Regions from separate parts of the Homo sapiens genome. Here regions 1, 2, 3, 4, 6 and 7 are each linked to region 5. Evidence: promoter capture Hi-C in 16 types of primary human blood cells and fetal thymus (Javierre and others, 2016). All regions are on one chromosome and are shown on one strand. The core of a region is centred on a gene start or on the middle of the fragment in contact, and the rest is flanking DNA. Distances in the headings are between cores, read along the strand shown. Region 1 has its middle 530 kb from the start of CSMD3. Region 2 overlaps CSMD3 (CUB and Sushi multiple domains 3). Region 3 overlaps CSMD3 (CUB and Sushi multiple domains 3). Region 4 overlaps CSMD3 (CUB and Sushi multiple domains 3). Region 5 holds the start of CSMD3 (CUB and Sushi multiple domains 3). Region 6 has its middle 630 kb from the start of CSMD3. Region 7 has its middle 580 kb from the start of CSMD3.

What was found. Contacts are between HindIII fragments. The CHiCAGO score rates a contact against its expected background, and 5 or more counts as called.
Region 1: a contact is called between a fragment that was not itself captured here and the fragment with the promoter of CSMD3 in region 5, in 1 of 17 cell types (neutrophils). The highest score is 5.0, in neutrophils.
Region 2: a contact is called between a fragment that was not itself captured here and the fragment with the promoter of CSMD3 in region 5, in 1 of 17 cell types (M2 macrophages). The highest score is 5.6, in M2 macrophages.
Region 3: a contact is called between a fragment that was not itself captured here and the fragment with the promoter of CSMD3 in region 5, in 10 of 17 cell types (M0 macrophages, M2 macrophages, M1 macrophages and 7 more). The highest score is 37.3, in M0 macrophages.
Region 4: a fragment that was not itself captured here is called in contact with the fragment with the promoter of CSMD3 in region 5 in 4 of 17 cell types (M2 macrophages, M0 macrophages, M1 macrophages and 1 more); the score reaches 9.3 in M2 macrophages.
Region 6: a contact is called between a fragment that was not itself captured here and the fragment with the promoter of CSMD3 in region 5, in 1 of 17 cell types (megakaryocytes). The highest score is 5.9, in megakaryocytes.
Region 7: a contact is called between a fragment that was not itself captured here and the fragment with the promoter of CSMD3 in region 5, in 1 of 17 cell types (neutrophils). The highest score is 5.0, in neutrophils.

The regions. Positions count from the first base shown.
Region 1 is chr8:113,965,323-113,969,347 of GRCh38, forward strand. No RefSeq gene overlaps it. Among named protein-coding and RNA genes, the nearest start is that of CSMD3, 530 kb to the left of the region's middle. The HindIII fragment of the contact is 6,634 bases long and covers 1-4,025 here.
Region 2 is chr8:112,844,802-112,848,712 of GRCh38, forward strand. The region is part of intron 11 of CSMD3 (CUB and Sushi multiple domains 3); the gene reads right to left. Among named protein-coding and RNA genes, the nearest start is that of MIR2053, 200 kb to the left of the region's middle. The HindIII fragment of the contact is 2,333 bases long and covers 546-2,878 here.
Region 3 is chr8:112,802,679-112,806,383 of GRCh38, forward strand. All of the region lies in intron 12 of CSMD3 (CUB and Sushi multiple domains 3), which reads right to left. Among named protein-coding and RNA genes, the nearest start is that of MIR2053, 160 kb to the left of the region's middle. The HindIII fragment of the contact is 2,455 bases long and covers 1,108-3,562 here.
Region 4 is chr8:112,826,818-112,830,438 of GRCh38, forward strand. It overlaps CSMD3 (CUB and Sushi multiple domains 3), which reads right to left. Exons shown (of 71, transcript NM_198123.2): 12 at 2,869-2,972. Among named protein-coding and RNA genes, the nearest start is that of MIR2053, 190 kb to the left of the region's middle. The HindIII fragment of the contact is 2,855 bases long and covers 573-3,427 here.
Region 5 is chr8:113,434,904-113,438,810 of GRCh38, forward strand. CSMD3 (CUB and Sushi multiple domains 3) reads right to left here and starts at 2,036. Exons shown (of 71, transcript NM_198123.2): 1 at 1,774-2,036. The coding sequence starts at 1,951. RefSeq lists enhancers at 620-1,130, 2,908-2,957, 2,970-3,470. The HindIII fragment of the contact is 6,354 bases long and covers 346-3,907 here.
Region 6 is chr8:114,064,011-114,068,117 of GRCh38, forward strand. No RefSeq gene overlaps it. Among named protein-coding and RNA genes, the nearest start is that of CSMD3, 630 kb to the left of the region's middle. The HindIII fragment of the contact is 3,630 bases long and covers 982-4,107 here.
Region 7 is chr8:114,010,805-114,014,377 of GRCh38, forward strand. No RefSeq gene overlaps it. Among named protein-coding and RNA genes, the nearest start is that of CSMD3, 580 kb to the left of the region's middle. The HindIII fragment of the contact is 1,132 bases long and covers 732-1,863 here.

The DNA of each region.
Region 1 (4,025 bases), core at 610-3,109, 530 kb after region 5:
AAATCTTATTTCTTCTCCTTTCGTGCCCTGGTATTATCTGTGTAAATACTGTATCTGCTTGTCTAATTAGAGAAGTGCCCTGAAAGCACAGCCTATTTTATTTCTTTTGTATTCCTGCATCAATGCCTAGACTAATACACATTTTTAAGAAGTCTTCTGAGAATAGTAAGGGGACTTTATAGAGGGGGCTGCTCCCTTTTCTAATAAGTCTTCACATTTTGAGTAATAAAAGCATATATTTTTGCACAAGATTTTGGTGGTGGTTCCTTGGGCAACAATCGGGGGTTTTTCTAACAAAGGAGATCTCTTTCTAGTGGGCATAGAGGCAAACACATTACTCATCATGAAGACAGATAACTAATATATATTGAGCACTTCTAGAAGGCAGAAATATGATAGGCAAACTTAACCCTCACAGCAATCCTAAAGTGTATTTTCTTACCTCCATTTTGTGTATGAACATAACAGAGTTAATAAGGTTTGTGAAACTCTTCCAAAGTACTCCCCTTTTAAGTAGCAGAGACAAGACTAGAAACTAATATTTTTTATTTCAAGTATCTGCTTTCATCCATTATAGTAAGGTACATGAAGTGGTCTTCAGACCAGAGGCTTCTGGCTTCCATGATTATCGTTTATAGTTTGAAAGTCAGATCAGTCTCTTGAAAGCGGCCATGTCTTTGCAGCAATAGGGATTTGTACAAGGGAGCATGAGCAGCAGTGAAAGTGATGAGTTATCAGATAAATCTGTAGCAAGCTGACTGAAAAATGGGAGTGAAGGTTGAGAGGGCTTCTACTGAGCAGACAATGGAGGACTTGCCCTCCAGGCAGAGATAATGCCGTGAGTAAGGGCTTAGAACTTTCAAGTGTGTGTTGTGATGAAGCAAAACAAAACAAGCAAACAAAAAATAAAACACAAATTTCTCTGAGTGGTGACAAAAGGAAAGTTTCAGAAAATGAACAAGGTCCAAGGAGTATGCTTCTGTTTCAGAAGGGGGAATGTATATTTGAGGAATTAAAGAAATGAAGAAGTGAAAGAGATGGAATACATTCTGGAGATGCTTTTATTGTATGGGGCTAGGAATTTAGCAGTGGCTTTATAGAAAAAGTGTCACATTACTTGTATACAATAAGATGAATAATATGTTAACAGTTAAAATGATTAAATTCTAAGTGTTAATAGATTTCTTTAGATGATTTTTCTCAGAATTTTGTAAGTTTAAATGCATGGTGCAAGTTTAACAACTGTACAGAAATAGATTTTGCTTTTGTAATTATATAAGTTTTGAAAACGAAGGTTATAGCACAGAAATGTATAGAAACTAATTAACAGCTCACCATCTAGAATGAACAAATATTCATTTGGCTTTTAAATTTTATACTTTTTTTTTAACACAAGAAAAAATACTACAGATAAGCTCATTGTTCCTTTTCTCTATTCTTTCATACCATTTCTCCTCAGTCCTTAGAGGCAGCTTTGGAACTAATATCATTATCACTGGATGTGTTTGGGTTATTTTTTTTTTTTGTCTTTTTTAAAATTTATAATACTATTACACATATGCATTAATACACAAAATATATTGTTGTTTTGTTACCTTAAAAATATGCGATAAACACAGGATATTTACTTCTTCCCCTTTCATCTCTTTTCTACCAAATGCCTTTAAATCATAAACCCTCTTTTGACTTTTTTTGGAATAAAGAAAACTAGGGACAAGAAGATTTTCTGGCAATAAAGATACTTCCTTTAATTAAGGATTAAGAGAAAAAATCTCAGAAAGTACAGTGTGAAAGAAAAATGTTCTATATTTACAATGATATGAGTCAAAAATATTTAGCCAACAACCAATCTTATATAAGTTAGATAAAGACCAAATTATGATATTTCCATGTTAAGTTAGGGTGAATCTAAAACATAATATGTAGATTAAGGTCAAACCAAAATAAGACTATTCTTTTTCAAGTCTACCGAATGAGTTAATTTATTAAAATATATTAATATGAGCTTTATAAACACCTGAAATCACATTTTTTTGAATTTAGAAAACACACATATCTTTAAGTGAAGTGCCTGATGGCCGTGGGTATATACTGTAGTTAGCAAGAGGATTAAATTCAGAAATGTTTTTATAACCTGGGTATGACCTATTCATATTAATAGTCTCTTGTTCAAAACAAGCCCTTTAATTTTTTCATCATTCCCTCAAAGGAGTTTTATATTGTTGTTTAAACCCTTAAGTAAATAGTTTGAGGAGAATTCAGAATGTGAATAAAATTCCCAGAGCTCAAGATATCTGAGCTATTAATTTAACAACTTGGAGATGCAATTCAACAAACCATGTGTGAATACCCATGTGTTCTGACATATTGAAACAGCATTTTCAATTAATTAAGGAATTATTAATTAACCCCCATTAGTACAGCTTATGGTATGTCTTTCAGGAATAAATCTCAGTGGAATTAATTTACTCCACAAATGTTTATTGGGTGCTTCCTAAGTTCTGGTCACTATTCAAGGTTTCGATGATACTACAAAAGTAATAATAATAAAAACAAAAGCAATGATAATAAACACATTTCTGTCCTTGTGGAGGTCTAAATAAAAAGACAGAAGAACAAAAAATTAAACAAACCCTTTACAAAATATTGCATAGTATATTCTTAATTGGAATATATGAACTTCTCAACCAATTCTTTACTCTCTCACTCTAGGTTTCTTTTGTTTCATGTATGAGAAAATGTTTTCAACATTTTAAATTGTATTCTTCTTCATCTCTCTCTGCTATTTTGAGCTTATTATGTGTTTTTGTGAACAAATATTTTCATACTTTCATAAAGATTAATTAATTCACTCAAATTCCATGGGTATATACTGTAGCCAAAATGTGATGTTGAATAGTTGGAAGGAAAGTATATCTATAATGTTTCAAATGATATGAATAAGTCATTGACATAAGATCATCATTAACATAATATAAGTTTTATGGCAATATTTTCCAGTGTATTTTTTTCAGAACACTATTTTTGTTAAATCCTCCTCCAAAAAAATTTCTCAAGAAAATGCTGCTCAAAATACCACTCTATAAGAAAGGTTATAATGCACAATGGTAAATTAAATCTTTAAAGTAATCATGTAAAAAATGTACAGTTTTACACTAGTATTTTTTAAATATCTTACCCTAGGGTATTTTACCCCCTTATTAGCAATTAATTTCCTAGGGAACCATTACACAAGATAACATTTTGCTGCTGCTTTATAGTAAACCCAACTTTGGGATCATTAGGGCTTTAATGATGAATGTTATTTCCATGGACACTACTAATTCCCCACAATATCCATTTTTGCCATTTTAAAAAGAAAAGAAATTGTGTGTTTTGTTGAGGAGCATCATTGCTCAGCTAGAGACTATTATTTTTGTTTAAAGACACATTTGCTTATTTTTGCCTTCTCTTTTGTGTCCTTCTGTTTGTGAAGTGGTAAAATGAATACCTACCTTAGGTTCAGTGAGCATGAGAGAATTGTCCAGCTAAATAAATGGGTTCCATTGACAACCTTATAGAAGAGAGAAGTAAACATCAATGTTCTTTGAACCATTGTATCTTTGTGTGTCCTTGTTATAGAGATTAATATTTATTCTAAATATTACAGGAATAATCTTTTGTTTTATGTTTCAGCTAGTTTTATTTTTTTCACTTCAACATTAAGCTCAACCTTTCATGCCCATATGGTGTAGATTGCTTAAAAAATTAGCTACAATTATTTTCCTTCCTATGTTCACACTCCCTTGCAATGTGACTTTGAAATTATTCCCATAAATGTCTTAATGCAGCTATATTTTGCTCTTTGACATTAAAATTACCTTTTAAATAAAAGTACATGTGGATGAATAAAACATCATCTTTATTCTTCATGCAATCATGTAACTTTAAATAAATTGTTGAAATTAGGATTTAAACAATACTATTCCTATATGCCATATACAAATAGCAGCATCCATGTACAAATATCTTTGTGAACATAAGGT
Region 2 (3,911 bases), core at 462-2,961, 590 kb before region 5:
ATTAAGACCTTCTTTGCCCAGTCTCTCTTTTTCCTCCCCTATGCCGGCCCCAGAAAGACTGTATTTGGTTGTATAAAGTACATTAATTGCCATAATTTATTTGAATTCCTTACTATTTATGTCAAATTATTATTCAACACAGCTCTGATTATGCATATGATTCCGGTATAATCATAATACTGAGATTAAAATGGTGGGTATACCCAATGGTTAGTAGTGGGAACAGTAGTGGAAAAAATACAAACAAAAATGCTTTGCCATTTGCATATTTTGCCTACTTTGTTGGTAAGAACCAGAGACATTCCTAGAAAGAGCTAAAACACATGGAAATAAACAAGCAACTATTTTGTCTAGGAATAATTGCTCAGTTATTTCAATAAATATTCATTTGAAAAACTCCCACATGACAGTTACTTCATTAGATATTAAGGATGCATGGACTCAGGAACTGGTTTTTGTCCTTAAGGGTTAAACTAAGGAAAATAAGTGCACAAACATGTAAGTACAATGTAATGTGACAACACATGGGTCAGTTATGCAGAGTAAGCTTTCCCAATCTAGGTGGGAAGATAGGACAGGCTTCTAGGAAAAGGTAAAAGATTACCTGAGTCCTAGAAGATGCCATTAATAAACAGGGTCACAAGACTGGAGATGTGTAAACAAAGTGAAAAAGTATATTCCCTACAGAAGGAGCGGCTTATCCCCAAAATACAGGGTCCTAGAAGTGCTTTGGGGGCTAAATAGAGTGTTGAAGTATGAGTCTAACACAAGAGTAGTTTAGGTTGCCCATGGCTTCCTCTATAAAGCTATGCAGAACCATTTAAATATTTTACAAAGAAGACATTATTTCATCTCAGAATAAAACATCACACTGAATTTTTTGGAAAGTAACAGGCTTGGAGTAAGCAGAAAAATGAGATGAAGATTTGCTAATTGGAAAGCTGGTTATTAATCCAAAGGAGAATAATGGAAACCTGAGTGAGAGGGAGTTAAACAACTTCAAGGCATACTAATTAAATATAATGAAGTCATTGGACTTTGTATTTAGATATGTGAAGGAAAAGGGGAAGGATGTAAAATGAAAAATGTTTGAATTATTAATATAGAGGAACACTAATATTTAAGGATAAGGTCACTAGCAAAAGCCTGGAAACGTAGGGGGAAATTCAGGAAAACAGAGAATAAAGAGGCTGGGGAGGATAAAGTTTCAAGGAAAAGGAAGTAGTCAATAATATGACTCACTCTATACCTATGCCTTTCTTTTACTTAATTTATTATTTAAAAATGTGTTTTCATTATAAAATGAAGCATATATCTTATTTGATACTTTTTTTGTTAGTACAAAATTAAAGTGGAAAATGCATGTAATCTTCTATCTAGAGATAATTCTTTTTTAACATGTTAAAATTATTCTTAAAAAAGATAATTCTTTTTTAACATGTTAAAAAAGAAATATTCTTTTTTCCCCTTTCTTTCTTTCCTTCTCTCTCTCTCTTTCTCCTTTCCTTCCTTCCTTCCTTTCCTTTCTCTTTTTCTTTCTTTCTCTCCCTCCCTCCCTTCCTTCCTTCCCTCCTTCCTTCCTTTTTTCTTTCCCTTTATAAATACACTTTTTAATTTTCTTGAGATAGGTGTTGCTCTGTCACCCAGGCTGGAATGCAGCAGCAGGGTTATAGCTCATCCATCCTTAAACTCCTGGACTCAAGTGATCCTTCCACCCCAGCCTCCTGAGTAACTGGGACTAAAGACATGTGCCACCATGCCCACTTGGTTAATTTTTAAAAATTGTTTTGTAGAAAAAGGGTCTTGCTATGTTGCTCAGGATGGTCTCAAATTCCTGGCCTCAAGTGATCCTCCCACCTTGGCCTCCCAAAGTAGCTCCCAGGTATGAGTCACTGTATCTGGCCTCATTTTTTCTTTATTGATATTTATTTATTTATATTTATTGATATTTAATTTTATTGTACTTGCACAGAGTAATTCACTTTAAATAAAGTATTTCAATTAAATAAACCATTTGAACAAAAAAAATAAGTACCATTGGTAGGGGTTAGGAATAGTTAAGGTACTGCTATACAGATATGGTTCACTTAAGAGGAGGGGAAATAAAAGATCAGCGCCTTTAAAATTCTACTGCCAAGCCTGGGTGTTCTATAAATAGTGACCAGAGCTACTTTTCTTGGCTTGGGGAACCTTGTAGTTGGTTTTTCTAATTTCCATCTAATTGTTTTGTATCAAGATCTTCACTCTGCTACTAGGTTCTTTCTGAATCATGCTTTGTTAAGACTGCCAACCTGGCTTTAATTTCAGTTTATCCCTGTACTGCTGCCTCAGGTTTGGTCTTGTTAGTGCCTGCTCCATTGTAGTAGATACTGTCAATGCTCCAGGTGATCAATAACCCCCTTGGATGCTTCTTGCCCTTTCTGTTATCTGTTCATTATCTTCCATACACTATGCATTTGTCTCTAAACGTGTATAGCTATGAGTCTTCTGGAGACTGCTTTCAGGCTACAGGAGCCCACTTGGTCCACACATGAGCCCTGAAAGATCTGGGTATCACTTACCCTATGATCATGGGGTGCAGAAGTATGAGAGCACAGCTTCTTTGCCTTGAGTTGGGATAAACTATCAGGTGTAATTTACACTGCATGAGATCCAGCAGAGGCTTGGATTTTGTCTGAAATTGCACCTTGCTTAACTTCCTTCTTGTCCTGCCTCTCCCACTCCCTTAATAGTTTCTCCTGGATACACTTTCTTAATGAATCAGCAGCATATAATTCCTTCTCTTGGGCCTGCTTTTTCAGGAACATAACTGAAGACAGCTATAGTCTGCAGAAAAGTGACTCTCTATGCCTGGCTGAGGTTTCAGACCTGGCACTGAAGCTTGGCACAAGTACCAAATCTCCAAATATTTGGCGCAAAGAACTAGTACCTATAAATGGGCTGACTAAATGAAGTGGCAAAAGGCTATCTCTAAAGATGGAAAAGTGACAAGAATTGTTCAGATGACAGTGTTACAGGTGAGTTCAAGAGTGTATTCTGATGCCTGAAGACTTTATGGGGAGGAAGATTAAGATTGTATTTAATGGATCTAAAGAAAAAACATGGGCTTAAATGTATTGAATGTACAAAGGTAATATTTCACAGTTTAATAATTTTACCTTCATTATAAATTGGACCTTCACTACTTGTTTTTAAAATAAGCCAAAGAATGGAATGGCCTGTCTGAAAAGGAACTTCATCTCCTACTAGAAAAGGCTGTCCTTTACCTGAATTTAAGTTTGGGGCAAGTGTCCATAAAAACATAAGAGCAGAGAAAAACTCATTTAATACTTCACTTCAACAGAAATCAAATCTATGTTTCAGAATGATATGAAATGTTGTAATGAAGTTTTATCAGAACTATATGAAAAACCCAGTAACTATGCCTTATGGTAGCTCTAGAGAAAATAATATACAGGCACAAATATGATTTAATATAAATGTAGTTAGCATTTATTTATAAAGCAGTACAAATACCAACAAAATATTTGCTATTCATTGTGCACTCATCTTAGACTGTGCTGTATTAAAGCACCTAGTAATTTCCGAACAATATATATTGCTTATTCATATTAATTAATTATTTTATTTATACAATAAATGTTAACTGGTCACCCACTATGAGCTAGGTACTATGCTTATGCTTACACATCCTTAAATACTCAACATATCTCAATATATGTATAATGGTCTATCTGATAATGTCATTCACTAAAAGTTATCTTTGGAATAAGGGATGGGATGAAAAATAAGCATATATAATTCCTTAAACTTACAAGGTAGTTTCCAATGTACAAAGTGCTGTTTTATTTATTAACTTGTGTGATACTTCAAGACTCCTATGACATGGTGAGGCATGGATGATTACCCCT
Region 3 (3,705 bases), core at 1,085-3,584, 630 kb before region 5:
AAGAGGATTGGGATATGAACGGTAGTTTTGAATTGAGTAGACCCCACAGCAGCCATATTATAATTATAATTATAAAAGTTCTCCCTTCTTGATCTTTGCTTTTTTGAAATAGTATCTGGATAGACCACTCTCTCCAAACTCAAATTTTATTAATTTAAAATTTATTAATTTAAATTTAAAATTTTAAATTTTATTAATGAGTATGCATGGGTAATCTGGACTCAAATCCCATCAGGATTACAATTAACTTTGATGGTGGAAAAATAGGGGAAGCCAAGGATATTGCCTGCAATTCTTTCTCCTAAACAGCTAATATCTCTGTCATATTTGGAATACATACAAGTACCAAACCTTTCAGAATTTGTTATGATTCTTTGACCTCATCCCCAGCAAATGAACTGCTGGCATTTATTGGATACATATTATTCTTGGTGGAAACTTAAAAAGATCTGCATAACTAGAAGGAAAGATTGAGAAGAATGGAAGAGGAAATGGATAAATTAAAGGCACTTTCATTGATTCTTCTTCCTTTTTCTGCTATCTCTGCTCTTTCTGCATCCCTTGTGTCTCTTTATCCTTCTCTGCCTTAGTAGACTCCTGAGAAGATCAAAGCAATGGTGTTTTAGACCTCCAGTTCTCCTAGTTAGTGTATTTCCCTACAAAGGACAAGGCCACAACTTCTTTCGCTGATAATGAATTATCTGCCTTGTTTGAGGAAACAGATTTGTGTGCCTCATGCCCTAACCCTGAGCCTACTCAATGTTTTAGCACATACTGTGCCCCCAAAAGTCACTTATCATTTATATTTCATGTATTTAGGAAAGCAGAAATTATGAAGGAACGTGCTTGGGGAATAATTGGGAACTTGTATAAAAGACTGTCCCCACATGAAGACAAAAAGATGTAGAGTGGTCTCACTTGCTATTTGGAAAAAAAATAGTCTTAGTCTAATAAACAGTAACATGGAAAATAAGCCAAAAAGTCATATAATTCTACATTTATCTTGTCACAATGTGAGAAAGACCAGCTCTTATTTGATCACCAGTGAAGCTGATGCCATTGAGAAGTTATACAGACCTCCTTGCCAGCTGATATATCTCAAATAAAAGCTTCTTTTCCCTGCTTCCCAGAAGTTTGCAGGCATCCTCTGCAGCATGTTTTCAGTTTACAGTCCCGGGCATGGAGATTTGCACAGGATACAGTGTGGAGTTCTGCAATCAGCAGACTCCACTCATGTGATGGAACAAGCACACTGGGGACCAGAAGATCACCCATTGAACCAAGAGGTAGATAACTGTTCATCACCCTCCACAAATAAGGGATAACTAAGAGATTTGGAGACTCACTGAAAGTAACTCCTTGTAGCTGTACTCGAAATCTTTCCTCTAAAAGTGAGCTGCGTGAAACTGCAATGGTGTATCCGAAAGACAAGGGAGTCTGCCATTGATTTCCATTAGCAGTTTGTTGAGGCTTTCTCAGAATCTACCGGTATGGATCCAAGGGTAGTTCAAAATTTTTGTCTCAGGTCCTTTGATGACTATCCAAATTCAAATTAGAGGAAGGGTATTAGGATGGCAAGGACAGATTCAAATGTTAGCAGCAGTTACTTAGTTTTGGGACAATCTAGAGAAATGTGAAGAAGAAAATAAATTAAAAAAAAAACTGATATGTTAATTATCCAGTAAGAACTATTTAGTAAAAGGCATAACCCCTATTCTGGCCAGCCTGTAGAGTGAGCAAAGAAAGAAAACAAAACCATATGCCATACTGCGAGAAGCCAGATGTTGGAGGCGGGACTGGAGAAAAGAGAATCCAGAGGATACAGCAACTGCAGAAATAAGGGAATCAGGAAAGCCCAGAAGGCTGGGAAATAATTTGGGAATGACCTAAAACTGACAGATTGAGGGGATCTCAGATGTGGGAACTGATGATACGTACATTTCAATAACTTTCTCTCATGCTAACTCATTGCATTTATTTTATTTTATTTTATTTTATTTTTTTTGAGATGAAGTCTCGCTCTGTCACTAGGCTGGAGTGCATTGGCGCGATCTCGGCTCACTGCAACCTCCAACTCCCGGGTTCAAGCAATTATCCTGCCTCAGCCTCCTAAGCAGCTGGGACTACAGGTGTGCACCACCACACCCAGCTAATTTTTGTATTTTTAGTAGAGACGGGGTTTCACCACGTTGACCAGGATGGTCTGAGTCTCTTGACCTCGTGATCTGCCCGCCTCAGCCTCCCAAAGTGCTGGGATTCCAGGTGTGCATTTTCTAGTAGTTGCTGGTGCTACTTATTCTGTGATTTCCCCAGAAAAGTCTTACTTTCCATCTGGTGTTAATGAACACACGTTGTTGGTATTTTGAGTTAGCCTTCTACTTGCTCTTTTTCTTCTGCAGTTCCCACACAAATAGGGCCTCATATTGGGAATAGGTTTTCTTAGTTTTCTCCTGATCCTCCTGTAAACCTATTGCAGGGAGACCTGCTGGGAAAATTAAAGACTACCATATTCTATATTCCATAGGGAGTGTCTGTGGAACTCCCTGGAATAAAAGGAATCTGATTACTGTGTACCTTCTGAAAGAAAAGGGGTATTCCGAAAAGCAGCTTTCTCACACTGTGCTGGATAAGTGCCCTGAACTGAAACAAGTCAATTCATCACTTTGGGCCCTAGCAAGTGGTTTAGTTTGAGGTGTAGAATCAATAGAAATTCTTTACAAAAAACATAAGCAATGGCCATGGTCAAACAATACCCTTTGTCAAAGGCTCTACTAGAAGAAATAAACACAGTTAAAAAAATTCAAAGACAAGTGGTAATTTTATAAAGACACTCACCCTGTAATATTAATACTGCCATACTTCCAGAAAGGAAAGAAGGTAAATGTGATAAAGATGATTGACCTGTGTACAAGATCTTAAAGAAGAAAATAAATTTATTGCTCCATTCACGCCTTTAGTTTCTAACATCAGAAACTTTAGTACTTTGCTACCATCCTCTGCAAAGTTTTTTCTCCGATTTATCTATGATCTGTTTTTTCTCATTGCTCTAGTAAACAAGTTTACATTTCTGTTGCTGTTTGCTGTTTTACTTAGAAAGGAGTTCAGTATTTATGAAAAAGTATTCAAGGATTTCCTGACTCTCCTTCCATTTCTCTAATCATTTACAGAAAAAACTTAAAGAAATTTGTCCCAGTGGGGGATCTGTAAGTCATCAGCATGTTGATGGTTTGCTGGTAGGCTCAGAAACTAAAGAGCAATAAAAAACTGACACTTCAGCTTTGTTACAACTCCCCCTTCACAAGGGCATAAGCCTTCAATAGACAAATTGCAAAATTGCCAAACTGAGATAAAATATTTAGAGCATCTGTTGATGCTGAAGGCATTATGTAGGCCTTAAAAAAAAAAACTATTTTGAGGACTAGTAGAATATTGTGGACAGTGAATTTCAGTTTTGTAAAGTGGCCAAAACTCTAATGAAATAACTGTGTAATAATTCCTCGGATCCTTTTATTTGGTCAGTAGAATCTGAAGAAGTGTTCCAATTAAAATTGGCTATAGTATAAGCTTTGGGAGTTCCAAATTTTGCAAAGACTTTCCACTTGCTTTGCTATGAAAATAAAGCGGCTACTTTTGGAATTTTAACTCAAAAGTTGGGAATAGATGACACATTAATAACAAATTTCTCAGTTTCCTTGGAGGTAGTGG
Region 4 (3,621 bases), core at 750-3,249, 610 kb before region 5:
TCATTGGAAACTTTAAATTTGATGGTGTAGGAACAACCATTTGGGTACTTGGTATTCTTTTGAAAAATAATACCTAATAGTCATTCTATGTTACTTATACAATGATTTTCTGTCCAAAAAGGATATCAATTGGTACATCAGAATTCATGATTGTCTTCCGAATTTTTCTAACATTGAAATAGGGTGAAAAATATGGTTCAAACACACATTTTTTTTAACATTAGGGATTGTACAGACCACTCCTCAATCCCAACAAATGTACTCTTTTTATATTTAACCAGTTCTAATAGTTGAGTATTTAAGATAATTTTGACATCTTTCTTCTGTATTTTACTAGGTTACCATAAATATATATATATATATATATATATATATATATATATATATATAATCTTTCTACCCACAATTGTGTGATACCAATTAGCTCAAATAGCTTTTTTTTGTTTTTTTAAGAAAACAGCAATAGGAGGACATAGCATCTATGCTCTTGGATGTCAGTTGGACAAGATGATTTCTAATATTTTATCCAATGCTGAGATGGAAGTTTTTTTTGTGGCAGATACATGAATGAAAGCTTCTTAAAAAGTATTTTTTAGTCAATTGACTAGCCAGCCTGCCTTTTCTTGTCCATGTTTTTAAGAATCTGAACCTAAAATCCAGTTTTCTGTCTTAAGGAGAAAAAGGAAAAGATATCTCATCAAATACATGTTTTACAATTTTATCTCTAAAGTGCATGTGATAGGATCTAACAAACATGTAGAGAGAAACATCTGCAATGTGTGAGGATTAATCACCAAATTTACTATGTATCATTAATATCCAAGAAACTTCAGTGTTTATGAGTGTCAGGTAAAGAAACAAACATATTCACTTGCAAAACAATGAATAAATTGATAAAGAAAGCAATCCACATTTTGTCTTATATCAGGTGTCACTTAATTAGCTATAGGCCCAGGCAGGCAACGCAAAGGATCTTAGAAGCTCAAGTGGAAAATGATAGAGGGATTAGGGCCACAAAGAGGCCCTCTCCATAGGAGGCAGAAGACAGTCCTAGCCAATTTTTGCCACATGACTATGAAGATCTAGGGTCACCAGTTTTACAAGAAGCCATAAATTCAAATTTTTACATGTAATTTTCAGTTCCTTAAAACTCTGTATTTGACAAATAATGATAGGAAAAAAGCACAGCTAATCATCAGAGCAGCTCTGTTGCTGCCAATTTATATATATACAATTTTACAGTATATTGCATGTAAAATATATGCAATTTTATATTATAATGAAATCTAAGCTATCAGGTATAAAACTACAATAAGATTTAGTAGAAACTATTGATTATTTCTGGAAAATGTCAGTTCAGTATGGTAATATGCCTAACAGGCTCAAATTGTTGCTCAGGTGCAACAAAAATGCTGATCATTTTCAAGAGAGGAAGTGTTAAGAATGAAGTTACAAAAATGTGAGCAACATAACTGATATAGTTTGGATTTGTGTCCCCACCCAAATCTCACGTCAAATTGGAGGAGGGACCTAGTGGGAGGTGAATGCATCACAGGGGTGGATTTCTCCCATGCTGTTGTCATGATAGTGAGTTCTCACAAGATCTGATGGTTTTAAAGTGTGTGGGACTTCCCCCTTTGCTCTCTCTCTCTCTTTCTCTCCTGCCACCATCTCTCTCTCTCTCCTGCCACCATCCTGGCTTCCCCTTTGCTTTCGGCCACCATTGTAAGTTTCCCGAGGTCTCCCAGTCATGCTTCCTGTTAAGCCTGTGGAAATGAAAGTAAATTAAACCTCTTTTCTTCATAAATAATCCAGTCTCAGGTAGTTCTTTAAAGCAGTGTGAAAACGAACTAATAATTGAACATATAAAGCATGTAAAATGCTGGCCCATTTGTCCATCACACCTTAGGAAACACAAAACAGAACTGTAGTAGGCCAGAGATAGACCACCAAATCATGTTGATCAATGATATCCACGTTGCAGACAGGGGAAAGAGGTTGAAGTTGAGGTCAAGAGTGCATGAAGACAGGTGAGTAAGTTTGGTTTTTGTTTTGTTTTCTAGAAAAGTAACACTAAAGAGCAGTAATATTGGAGCCCACAACATACTATGTGTGACTATGAGTTTAACCCTTGGTTTATTACAGGATTCTGGAATAATAGTTCTAGGAGGCCTTCTTGTAAAATTAAAAAGAAAATAAAAAGAAGAGGGAGAAGAGAATGAAAAGGAAAAGAAAAAAAAAGGAAAAAAAAATAGCTTACCTTTAGTCAATTTACATACAATAAGGGCATTACCAGTAGTAGCTGTCTATGCTGATACTAATTTTTTTAACATTTATATCAGTTGTTCTCCAACTTTGATGTGCATAAGGATCATGCAGTGATTCTGTTAAAATATAGATTGATAAATTCACATCCTGGAGATGTTGATTCACTAAGTTCGGCTTGAGGGCCTAAAAATCTACATTTTCAAATGTGCACCAGGTATTTGTGATGCATTTGTGATGCAAAAAGACCCTATTTTGAGAAGCATCAGGTTAGATGAGCAGGCCCTCACCAGACGTCAAATCTGCTGACACCTTAATCTTGTATTTCCTAGCCGCTAGAACTATAAGAAATACATTTCTATTGTTTATAAGTCACCCAGTTTACTGCATGTTGTTAGAGAAGCCCAACTGAACTGAGACAAAGTGCCTTAAATCTCATTGAAGAAGCACTAACAGATTCTATGAAAGTTAACAATAATAACTAAGTTACTGTGCATCTTCTGCTGGTAGTAGTGGGAGCGATCAATGTAAAACAATAATTTGAAAGTAAAATTTTATTAGTACCCGATAGGCTAAGGCAAAAATGAAACATTGGGAACTTACACTTGGAGCACTGTCCTAGGATCTCCAACTTCGCCCCCATCGCCAATTGTCAAGGTATCATAGCCAATCTCCAGATCAAATTCTTCAAAATTTATCTGGATAACCTAGCAGTAAACAGAAACATGCACCTTAAATATACTGCGTTGTGCAATAAAAACAACAAAAAAAGCAATGACAGAAATGCATTCTTTGTCTCTCTGCACACACACACACACACACACACACACACACACACACACACAAGCAGTTCAATTATGTATAAATATATATATAATTTCATAGTATGGCAGCAAGTCATGTTAGAATATTCTTAAAGTTCAATCATATCATTACATGACTTTTACTTGCTGTATTGTATTTTCTGCATTAAATTTTCAATGAAATTGCATGGTTTCTGTTTATAGAATACTCTTACTTGAAGAATGATTAAAGCAAATCTACTTTAAGAAGGCTTTATAAAAAGTATATGTAGGTGGAGAGTGGTTTTCCACATATTTGCATATATATTTTATAAAGTTAACATGCAGAAACAGAGTGTGCTATTTCCATTAAGTAGTAAAGCTTAAAATTTGTTAGAGCTAAACTTGAATCTAGATTGCCAGAATGGTATCAAGTTTATTTTTATGTATCGTTTGGTAAAAGAATTCCTCAAATATATTAAAATGAGCGGCAAAACTGGGAGCACAATACTTTGAGAGGCACACTATACCATGCTATGTAATTCAGCATTATTTCTTGCTAAAATATACTCAT
Region 5 (3,907 bases), core at 786-3,285:
TTGGCTCAACAGGTATCACATGAAAACTCGCACTTAAACCCTGGTCATCTTCTCACAGGAGCCACCCTTACATTTTTCTGCCAGGGCTGCTGCTGGCTATTCGCGCCTCCCCCACGCGAAGCGCGCGTCTAGCAGGCAGCCCCAGGGCCATCCATTAACCACCAACTCCCAGTGGCAGGCGAACTAAGCATAAATGTGTGGCTCCTCACCCGTCGAGCCAGCGACAAAGAAACCTTGTAAGCAACCTGAGCCGTGCTTTGTACATTTGGCAGTGTAGTTGTGCCACTTAGGACAAGCTTTTCGGCTCAGAGCTGCTCTGAGGCCCCAGAGAGAAAAGAAAAATCAAGCTTCAAGGAGCAGGTTGGGATTACAAGGCAGTTGCTGCCACAGAGACCGGGGCGACTGACTTCCTGGCATTTTGGGATGTAAATTAAAATTCTAGACATGCCACCCATCATTGGTTATAGTAGAGGGAAAGGTAACCTCTCCAGCTCCCTCCTCCCAAAACATGAATTATCATTTCCACTGAATGCAAATGAGCTGCCTTCCGTGGGGGGACAGCCAGCTGCAAGCTGGACAATAAACTGTTTCATAGAGACGCGGCCCGATTGCAGTTCAGAGAGGCACTCCTTTACAAAGGAAGAAGCGTCCAGTTTGTGTTGACAGCCCTGGCGCGCCTGGGCCAAAACAGCACCCCCTTTCCCGCGATCCCCCGCCCCCCCGCGACACACAGACACCCGGGATTTGAAACTAGCTTCACTGAAAGCGGCATCCATAGCGTCTATTCGAGCTGCCATGAGTATGGAGAGGTGATTGTTCAAAAAATGATGGCATGAGTCATAAACACCTCCTGAGTATTCTTTGCAGCAATTAATGGGCAGCAGGGTGCCGGAGAAGTTGTGGAAGAGAGCTATGGATCTATTTTCTCCCTAAGGACAGCTCTTTTTCCCATGATCCTGACTGTCCCTTGCCTTCCTGCTTGGGAATACATTTTTACATCCCACCTACCCCCTCCCCTATCTGTGCATGTGACACTCACTCTACCTGTCTGAACGCTGAGACTTGCTGGGGATTTTCTTTTGGTCGTCAGCTAATGACTTTCCTCCTACCTCATTCATCCCTTAAGGTGGTTCTTTACACTTCATGGCATTTCAGACCCTTCGAAAGCCTCATTTTTTGCCAAACCTCTACCACAGGTCCTAGGGAAGCTCCCCTACATTTAACATTGCATAGAAGCCCAATTTACATACATATGCATGCAGACATTCATGTTGATGTGGCAGTGCTTGGAAGATCCCTGTGCCCTAATGCATTTAAAATCAACACATTCCTAGCACGTCGATAACTTTCTTCCCTGAAAGGGTTAAAAAGCATTTAGACCAGCGTCTTTAATATATATATTCCACCCAAAGCCTCAAGCCCTAGTGATCTGACAAGAAATCAAGGTAATCCTCACCACTAAGAAAAGTCTTGCAGAGGAATTCTGCCTGGATATCCACTAGTTAGAGGCTATACTAACCAACTCACGTATTCGTTTGAGCATACTGCAAGAATATTTATTGAGCACAAGCTCAATCACCGCATTGAACGCCAAATCTGGCAAGCAAAATGCATTTCCTATCTGAGGGGGGGAGAACGAGCTGTGAATCAACTCCTTTAGTATTATCAGATTATTTTATCGGTGCAAATTGCAAAGTAAGCTGCCAGCCTCTCTCCATCTACAAGTCAGCCCACCTCCATCCAAAGCGGAGGGGACCCCCAAAGCAGACCTACCTTTCACACAAGACACCGTCAATAAAAAGACGAGGTTCCAAAACGTAAATCCACTTTTAATCCCCATTTTCTTCATCAGGATGAAGTCTAGGCGGCCACATTTAGCGCATCTTCGCTTGCCAGGCTCCCAGGGTTTGGATTCCTTTGCTCGGCTTTCCCCTTTGCGGATCCCTTTCATATTATTCGCGAGCTCCTAATTCCTGCTCCTCAGCCCGGCGCAGTGGAGTTGTTGCTGTTGTTGGTGCGCGGTCACAGCTCGGAGTGAATGGTGTTTCTGGGATACCACAGCAACCTTGACGAGGACTCAACCATCTCTCCAACGGGGGCACAAAGTCTCCGCTACTCTGGATTCTGTCTTTTCTTGTGCGTTTTTTCCCCTCCACCAAAATCTACCCCAATTCTGGCTCGTTATAGCAACCACCAGAAACCACTAGTGAGCCTCTTAAAGCCCACCTCTGCTCTCTGATAAACTCCACACAATATTTGAAATTAAGGGGCTTGCTTTTTTTCCCCGAATAGATCAATTCTGCCTGTAAAAGCAGCCCAAGAAATAATGTTAGTGAGCTCTCCGTTGCAGGCTGCGAATACAGAAGCATGTCAAAGGAATATTTTAATCGGAGGATCTGTGTTGCTTTTGGGGAAACCGTGACGATAATGAATCGGGCTCCATCGATGCCCACGTCGTTATAATGGGACATGTGTTACTACTGTAGTTGCAGTATATTTCAGGCAGGCTTCTCCCATTTATTATCCTGTGATTTAATTGAAAAAGGAAATCACAGAGAATTTTCTCAATAAATTCTGCCTTCACACGGAAAAGAATGTATTTGAACACATGTATTTACATACTCAAATAACTACGTGTAAACCCTTCACCGGGTTTTTATGATTCGGGAAACGGATTTCATCCGTGGCCTGGGCGGGGGTGGGGTGGGGAGGGAAGTCAATGTCGTTTCCTCAAATAGTTCTCCCTTTCATCCTCCCAACCCCCTTTTCAGTTTGTGTGTGCCGCAGTTAAACTACTTTATCTGTGGTAGTTATCTAGAACAAACCCATTTGTCTTAATTCTGAATCGGTACCAAATATGTAAATAGGAGGTTTCTTTCAAAACGAAAAATGTATGTATCTATACATCTGGATCTGCTTCCCCCATGCACCACGCAAGGGTTAAGATTGCACAAGGGAAGAGTTCTTGCGCCATCTACTGGCCGTCTCCGAGCCGCCCGTTCTTCCTTCGCATGTATAAGGGACCCTGTTTTTGCCATCCCTTGGTGTCAGGGGAGCTGTGTCCCCGGGACCAGTATGTCGTGCTCCTTGATTTTTTTCGACCACGGTCCTGGCCCAAATCTTTCAATGAACAAGTTCCTTAGATTAGGCAACTGATTGGTGATCTGACCTTTTCGGGAATCTGGTCCCCTCTCAGCAGTGGGGAGTGCCACAGCGCTAGTTCTGAAACAGGATATTGCTGTTGCGTGTGGCTCCATTTAACTGCCTCAGGCTATCATGGGCGTGAGCGTCTATCAACAAGGCTTAGTCTAGAGGACTGCCCAACTTGAGTTTGCAGCTCCCTGCACTGTGCACAAATAATGGGTTTGGTCCCGTGCACCACAGCATTACCCTGGCCAGCTTTGTCCCTTGGCTCGCGTTGGAGCTGCCCGCTCAGCAGAGGAAGGCGTTAGAATCTGGAAGGAGTTCCGCTCTGGGAAGTGGGCACACTGCGAGTGTCCATAGGTTTGAGTGGCGAGTGAGTTCAATCTGCAGGCGTAGGAAGGCTTCTGATCTCTCGGGGTACGTGGCATTGTGTGTGGGCCTGTGATTCTCCCAGTTCGTGTGTGTGTGTGTGTGTGTGTGTGTGTGTCTGCGCGCGCGAGAGCATAAACGCGCTGTAGTGAGAGGTAAGTGTGCGTGTTTATGAAAGATACAAAGAGTGATTTGCCATGCGTAGGTGTTTTCCCAAGTGTATTTTTGCAGTACATATGCGTGTGCACGCCTGTGTGTGTTTGTGTGTTAGAGAGGGATTTCTGTCCTGGGTAGGGAGCTGTAGCAAAAGGTAAAAGCTGTAGACGCCCAGCTGACCTCATTAAATTCAGAGAGATACTTTAAGAGCCCTCAGGCAGAACATTGTCCCTTCTTT
Region 6 (4,107 bases), core at 1,547-4,046, 630 kb after region 5:
TGCCATTAAGAAAGGGGATGGTAATAATATATACTTCATAAGATTGTTTTCAGTATTGAGTTATTATCTTTGCAATGATTAGAACATTGCCAGGTATATAATAAATGTTCATAAAAATGTGGTTATTGTGAGGAATATTCAGTGAGTCTTTAACTTAAAAATTTCAGGTATTATAAACTAAGCCATAACATTTTGTGCTTAAGGTAGATCTGTCACTTCCTGCTTTAACACATGATCTTCTCAAAACTAAAAACAATGTCAAATAAAATAAAAAAGAGAGAAAATATAAAAAGATATTTGTGTGAACACAAGATAGATATCTCTATGAGTCAAAAGTAAGACAGAAACTAGAGAAAGTAAGTGAGTTTGAAACCACTGGTTTACTCATGGCCAGAGACTTGCAATAAAGGCCAAGAAATTATTTGGACTAAAATGTACATGAGATATGGCATACTGAAGCCAGATTCACTGTTTTAAGTAAACGGATGTAGGAGAACTTATAAATGATAGTGAATGATAACATGACTGCCAATCTAGAGCATTGATTTTAACAGAAGTTGCGGATTATATATCCAAATATACAACAGGCAATACAGGATTATATAGAATGAGCAGGGAAGAGCAAAAACACAACATTGAAAGATGAATTTAGCCAACTCTTACTAGTTTCATGACAATCTACAATAACTTCAAACATATAAGACTTCATTCTAGATTGGGGACTTGCCAGATTGATGGAAATGCAAAAGGGCTATCTGGAAGGAAGAAAAAGAGAAAAAATACAAATAATAATAACAATGGAAGAAAAACAAAATGGCTCCTACTTAAAATGAACCTGCCAACCAAAATTACAAAACACATAAAGGAATAACATGCTAAAAATATATCCTAGAAAACAACAATAATACAGGAATTCATTTGAAGTGAACTTAATTTTAAGGAAGCAATCTGGTGAAAATTTTAAAATGCACATACTTTAGAAGCTTAAAGTGATAGTAAAGAAAATCATTAAAAATAAATAATGAAACAAATACAGGTAGTCATGAAAGAAGAACAGATAGGATAATATAAACAATGGAATTGATATTTTTTGGAAAGGGTCATTTTTATTCTAGTTAACTGTAAAGATATATTAAATTAAAATATAATATTTAGTATTAACTCAGAATGCATTACAGATAAATCAAGATATAAAATATATTAAAGAAAAGGTAAGAGGCACAAAGGAGAGATTGGTCTGTGCCTGCATTCTTCAAATGAAAGTAACAGAGAAAGCAGCAAATGTCAGAGTTACAATGTTTAAAGAGATAATTACCAAGAGTTTAGCAAAATATTTGAAAAGAGAGAGAAACTAATTTCAAGTTTAAAGTGCACCCTGAATATCAGACACGATAATTATAAATTAATACCTGCACACATTGTAGAAACTCTGTAGAAAACAAAAACATAGAAAAGAAATAACTTTTAAACACTGCTTGAGAGAAAATATTATTTACAAAGACATTGCAATTAGATTGCACCCAGCTTCTGAAAAGCAACAGTTTTCATTTATCTAATATTCAAATATTTATTAAATGCTTACTCTTTCCCTGACATTAGTATGCATACTCCAGAGAGAGCTGTGAACAAAACAGACATAAATTCCTTCCTTTGTGGAGCATATTACATTCTAGTTTGAAAACAAGAAAATAATAGAATATGTTAAAATTGCTGTGGCAAATAACTGTGAATCCAGTAGGTTAAAAAATGTAATAAACCATTATAAAATAATATAAAAAATATTTTCAGGCATATGAAGATGAAGAGAGTTCATAAAAAATTGTTGCCAAATAAAGTGAAACCACACTACAAAACTGATTGTACATTTATACAATTTACTGATGAAAAGCAGTATTAAAAGACAAAGGAGAAACATTTGTTCATTTCCATAAATACAGAAAAAGAATTAAATGCCATCCTTTTTATTATTTTTTAAAGGTAATTACATGAATTATTTACACATAATAGAAGAGGCTGAGAAGCTAACTAGGACACACTAAGGCAATCTAAAAATTCAGGCAGAAAGACATGATTGCCCCTAGACTGGAGAGATAAATGGAGGAGGTTGGATTAAACTGAGAGATTAGCACTGCTTTGCAGAGGTTAGAACTTCCGCATCTGTCTGACAGGAATTGGCACTATGAAAGAGATGCTGCTGCTGCTAGAGGCATCTTCCAAGGTATAAGAAGGGAAAATATTGCTTTCTCCCTTACAATTTTTTACCTCTGTTTCCAACCAACCATAAGTAGGTTGCCACTAGGATTCACAGGAATCAGCCCCACTTTCAAAGAGAAATTATAATGAGGAGAGGTGAGAAGTATATATAACAGAAAACATAAGGTAAGTACCTTACCTTAAATTACATGCACAAAAATCAAGTCTACATTACTAAAGACCTAAATGTATTACTAAAGACCTAAACGTACATAGTAAAACTTCAAAAATATCAGATAAAACAGTATCTTAGTAATCTTTGTTAGGAAAGGTTTCCTAAACAAAATACAAGCATGCAAACTAAGAACAAAATGTTTCATATTTGGTACATTACAATTAAAATTTACTTATCAACATGACAAAATTTTTAAAAAATCATTGATTAGAAGAAACCTTTTCATTGCATCTAATGTCTAATTAATTACTCTCTAGTATATATAAAATCTTAAAAAGTAATAAGAAAATACAAATTTCTCTTCTTGTTATATATCCAAAGGAAATAAATTCAATATCTCAAATAGATTTCTGCACTCCCATGTTCATTGTAGACTTATTCACAATAGCCAAGATGCTGAAAAAACCTAAGTGTCCCTCTATGGATTAATACATAAGTAAGTAATTTTACATATATAAAATGACTGGCCATTTATTTCACTTAATAACCAATCATTTTATATACATAAAATGTCCTTCAAGTCCATCCATGTTGTAGCAAAGGGTAGGCTTTCCTATTTTAAGGCTTAATAATATTCCAAATATTATTAAACCTTAAAAGGTATTTTTTAAAGGTAAATACATGAATTATTTACACGTAATATTAGACATAATGTTTGACATAATATTACATACAATATTACACATACTACACTTAAAGGGTTACTATTATTATTAAGCCTTTAAAAGGAATATTATTAAGTCTTAAAATAGGAAAACCTACCCTTTGCAACAACATATGAACTTGAAAGATATAATGCTAAGTGAAGTAAACCAGTCACAGATAGAAAAATACTGCATGATCTCACTTTAGAATTTAGAAAAAAATACTGCATGATTCTCACTTAGAATTCATAAAAGCAGAGTAGAATGGTGGTTACCAAGGATAAAGGTTGGCAAAATGGGTAAATGGTTTTTGTTTATTTATTTGCTTGAGACAGAGTCTTGCTCTGTCACTCAGACTGGAGTACAGTGGCACGATCTTGACTCACTGCAATCTTCACCTCCAGCGTTCAAGTCTCATGCCTCAGCCTCCCCAAGTAGCTGGGATTACAGACATGCCCCACAATGCCTGGCTAGTTTTTTGTTTGTTTGTTTGTTTGTTTGTTTTTTAATTTTTAGTGGAGACGGGTTTCACCATATTAGCCAGGCTGCTTTCAAACTCCTGACCTCAAGAAATCTGCCCGCCTCGGCCTCCCAAAGTGCTGGGATTACAGGCGTGAGTCACCGTGCCCTGTCAGGTAAATGTTAATCAAAAAGATGCGAAGTTTTAGTTATGTAGCATGAATAAATTTTAGAGATCTAGGTACAGCACGGTGACTATAGTTAATAATACTGTATTGCAAACCACTTGAACTTTGTTAAGAGATTGGCTATTGCGTTCTCACCACACACACCAAAATAAGGCAAAAAAAAAAAAAAAAGAAAATGTAAATAACCTAATGTATAAATAGACTAAAATATTTTAAAATCCAATGAACCCATGAAGTGTAAAAACATAATTGTACTATAATACTGAATCATTCCTCAATCATCAGAATGACCTAACTTATAAAACCTGAAAACATAAATGTTGGTGCAAATTCAGAGCAAAGGAAATGCTCAGAAACTACCGGTAGGAATGGCAGTTAGAATAACTAT
Region 7 (3,573 bases), core at 48-2,547, 580 kb after region 5:
AAAGGCTACTTAGATTTTTTAAAATATTTTTCTTCTTTTATTGATGCACAATATTTTACCTATGTATGAGGTACATGTATGTTTCACATGCATAGAATATATAATGAACTAGTTTTATTTAGATTTATTAGATTTAGCATGACAGAGGGAAAAGAATATTAACATAAGAAAATCTGTATTTTATTATTTCTGATTAAAATATATTATAAATTAGTATAGATCAGAACTTTCTATCTTGGCCTGAAATTCTATGTTGAAAAAGTACAGGATTAGGATCACAAACAAAATGAAACAGAAAATGTGGTTTAAAGAAATATCATAGAGCAGTGGCCTCCAATCTTTTTGGCACCAGGGACCAGTTTCATGGAAGAAAACTTCCAAGGGCTGGGGAGGCGGACGGTTTCGGGATGATTCAAGTGCATTACATTTGTTGTGCAGTTTATTTCTATTATTATTACATTGTAATTCATAATGAAATAATTATACAACTCATCATAATGTAGAATCAGTGGGACCCCTGAGCCTGTTTTCCTGCAACTAGCCAGTCCCATTTGGGAGTGGTAGGAAAGAGTGACAGATCATCAGGCACTGAATTCTTATAAAGAGCATACAACCTAGATGTCTCCCATGCACAAATCGAATTAGGGTTCGAGCGCCTGTGAGAATCCAGTGCTGCTGCTGATCTGACAGGAAGTGGATGCCAGAGTCGGGAGCACTGTCAGTACAAATGAAGCTTCACTTGACCGCCCGCCACTCACTTCCTGCTAGGCAGCCTGGTACCAGTCTCTGGCCCCGGGGGTTGGGGGACCTCTGTCATAGAGAGCGTGTGTGGGGGATGTAACTAAAATAGGGCATGGAAGTATATGACTTCTTCCAAAGAGATATATTTGTTACAAGTATAAAGAGAGGGAAAGTTAATATACAGACATTGTGCATTATGAAAATCAACATGTTTAAAGGAAGAGTCATTCTCAGGAACATGTGAGTAAATGAAAAAGGGGCCAGGCACAGTGGCTCATGCTGTAATCCCAGCACTTTGGGAGGCCGAGGCCAGTAGATCACCTGAGGTCAGAAGTTCGAGACCAGCCTGAACAACATGGTGAAACCCCATTTCTACTAAAAAATACAAAAATTAGCCGGGCATGGTGGCAGGTGCCTGTAATCCCAGCTACTCGGGAGGCTGAGGCAGGAGAATTGCTTGAACCCAGGAGGCAGAGATTGCAGTGAGCCAAGATCATGCACTCCAGCCTGGGTGACAGAGCAAGACTCTGTCAAAAAAAGAGAAAGGAAGAAAGAAAGAGAGAGAGAGAGAAGGAAGGAAGGAAGGAAGGGAGGGAGGGAGGGAAGAAAAGACAAGAAAAGACAAGAAAAAGGAAAGGATTGGGAGGAAGTGGAAATAATATCATGGTCTGAGATTAATGCAAGGTCCTGACCAGCAGGAGACAGAGGCTCATTATTTCCCCAAAACAGCACTCAACTGTCATGAAAGCAAAGGGAATACTCAGGGTTTCTGTGTGCTCTACACTACTCATGATTTACTGAACTAAAACCAAGGAATTTAAGAAATTGTTAGATTACCTTTTTGAAATTTTGAATTATCGTAGATCAATGGATACGATGGTCAAGTTGCTCTTTTAAATTTTATGTTAACAAAGAAGAAAACATCAGTGAGATCAAAACAATAACAGAAAGTTTAAATTCCAAGCTGGGTTTTAATGCTAAATAATTGAACCTCAATCAAGGAAATAAGCCATTCAGGTCTAAGATTCTTCATTTTAAAATAAAAACACTGTATTATATTATTTTTATTGTTCAGTAGTTCCCACTTTTCCATGGAGAATATGTTCCAAGACTCCCAGTGGAAGCTTGAAACCACAGATAATACCAAATCCTATATATACTATGTTTTTTAGTTTGATAACCAAGAGGACTACTAATGACTAGTGTAGCAAAATTGTGTATATGCTAGACAAAAGTATATCTCATGTCCTGGGCAGGATAAAGTGGGATGGTGTGAGATTTAATCATGATACTCAGAACAGCACAAAATTTAAGACATGAATTGTTTACTTCTGGACTTTTTTCATTTAGTATTTTCAGATGGTAGTTGACCTTGAGTAACTGAAACCACAGATAAGGAGGGACTACCACACTTTTTAGCTCTGTCATAATTCTTAGGAAATTATGCTTAATATATTCATGCAATTTTTATGTTTGCTCTGCTTTTCAAAGACTTTGAAAAAATGATGGTATTTGACGTTTACTCACCTGGTGAAGGAAAATTTGTAGATTTAATAATAAATAATAATTTAACAACTGATTTATTACTGATTTATGTAGTTAAGAATATCTATATGCAATTATTATTATTATTATTTTGAGACAGAATCTTGCTCTGTCGCTCAGGTTAGAGTTCAGTAGCATCATCTCAGCTCACCACAAACTCTGTCTCTCAGGTTCAAGCAATTCTCATGCCTCAGTCTCTGTAGTAGCTGGGATTACAGGTGTGCATCACCATGCCCAACTAATTTTTGTATTTTTGGTAGAGACAGGGTTTCACCATGTTGGCCAGGATGGGTTTGAACTCCTGACCTGAGGTGTTACACCCACCTCAGCCTCCCAAAGTGCTAGGATTGCAGGAATGAGCCACCATGCCCAGTGGCAAATAGTATTTTTTATTGGGAATTTTTATTTTTATTTTTAATTTCATCATTTTAATTTTGTTTTTTTATTGAATTTGATCTAATCGATTTCTTTTTTTTTTTTTTTTTTTTTTTTTTGAGACAGTCTCACTCTGTCACCCAGGCTGGAGTGTAGTGGTGTGATCTCAGCTCACTGAAACCTCCACCTCCTAGGTTTAAACTATTCTCATGCCTCAGCCTCCCAAGTAGCTGGGATTACAGGCACATGCCACCACACTTGGCTAATTTTTTATTTTTAATAAAGAAAGCTTTCACCATGTTGACCAGGCTGGTCTTGAACTCCCAGCTTCAGGTGATCTGCCCCGCTCGGCCTCCCAAACTGCTGAGGTTACAGGCATGAGCCACAGCGCCTGGCCTGATGTAATTGATTTCTTTATACGCCATCTACAGTATTTTATATACCTATAAATTCTATTTTGAAGAAACATTCTAGTCCACATTCTAGACAGAAATTTTTGTTGGTTTTTTTTTTCAGAACTAAAGGTTTAAAGACATTTCTCATATATAATTTTATATAGAGAATCTTGAATAATATATTGGACAATGTCCTCAGCAACAACTGTAAAATAGATAATGAAACAGTCTTGAAGGGGCATTTCTCGCACAACCCTTAATGAAAGCAGAACCTATAAGATTATACAACTAAATTAAGGCGATTCTGATGAGGAAGAAAATAACATTTGTTGAATCATCATTAGGTGACAGTCCTTCTGGACTTATTACCTGAATTATTTCAATATCATTTAGAGATTTATGGGACACCCCAAGAAAATAGTGTAGAAAATGTCAAAGGAAACAGACCTAATATTGGCCAAGTTGAGATGTGAATCCACTTCTGTCTGACTCCTAAATCCATAATCTTTCCATCCAG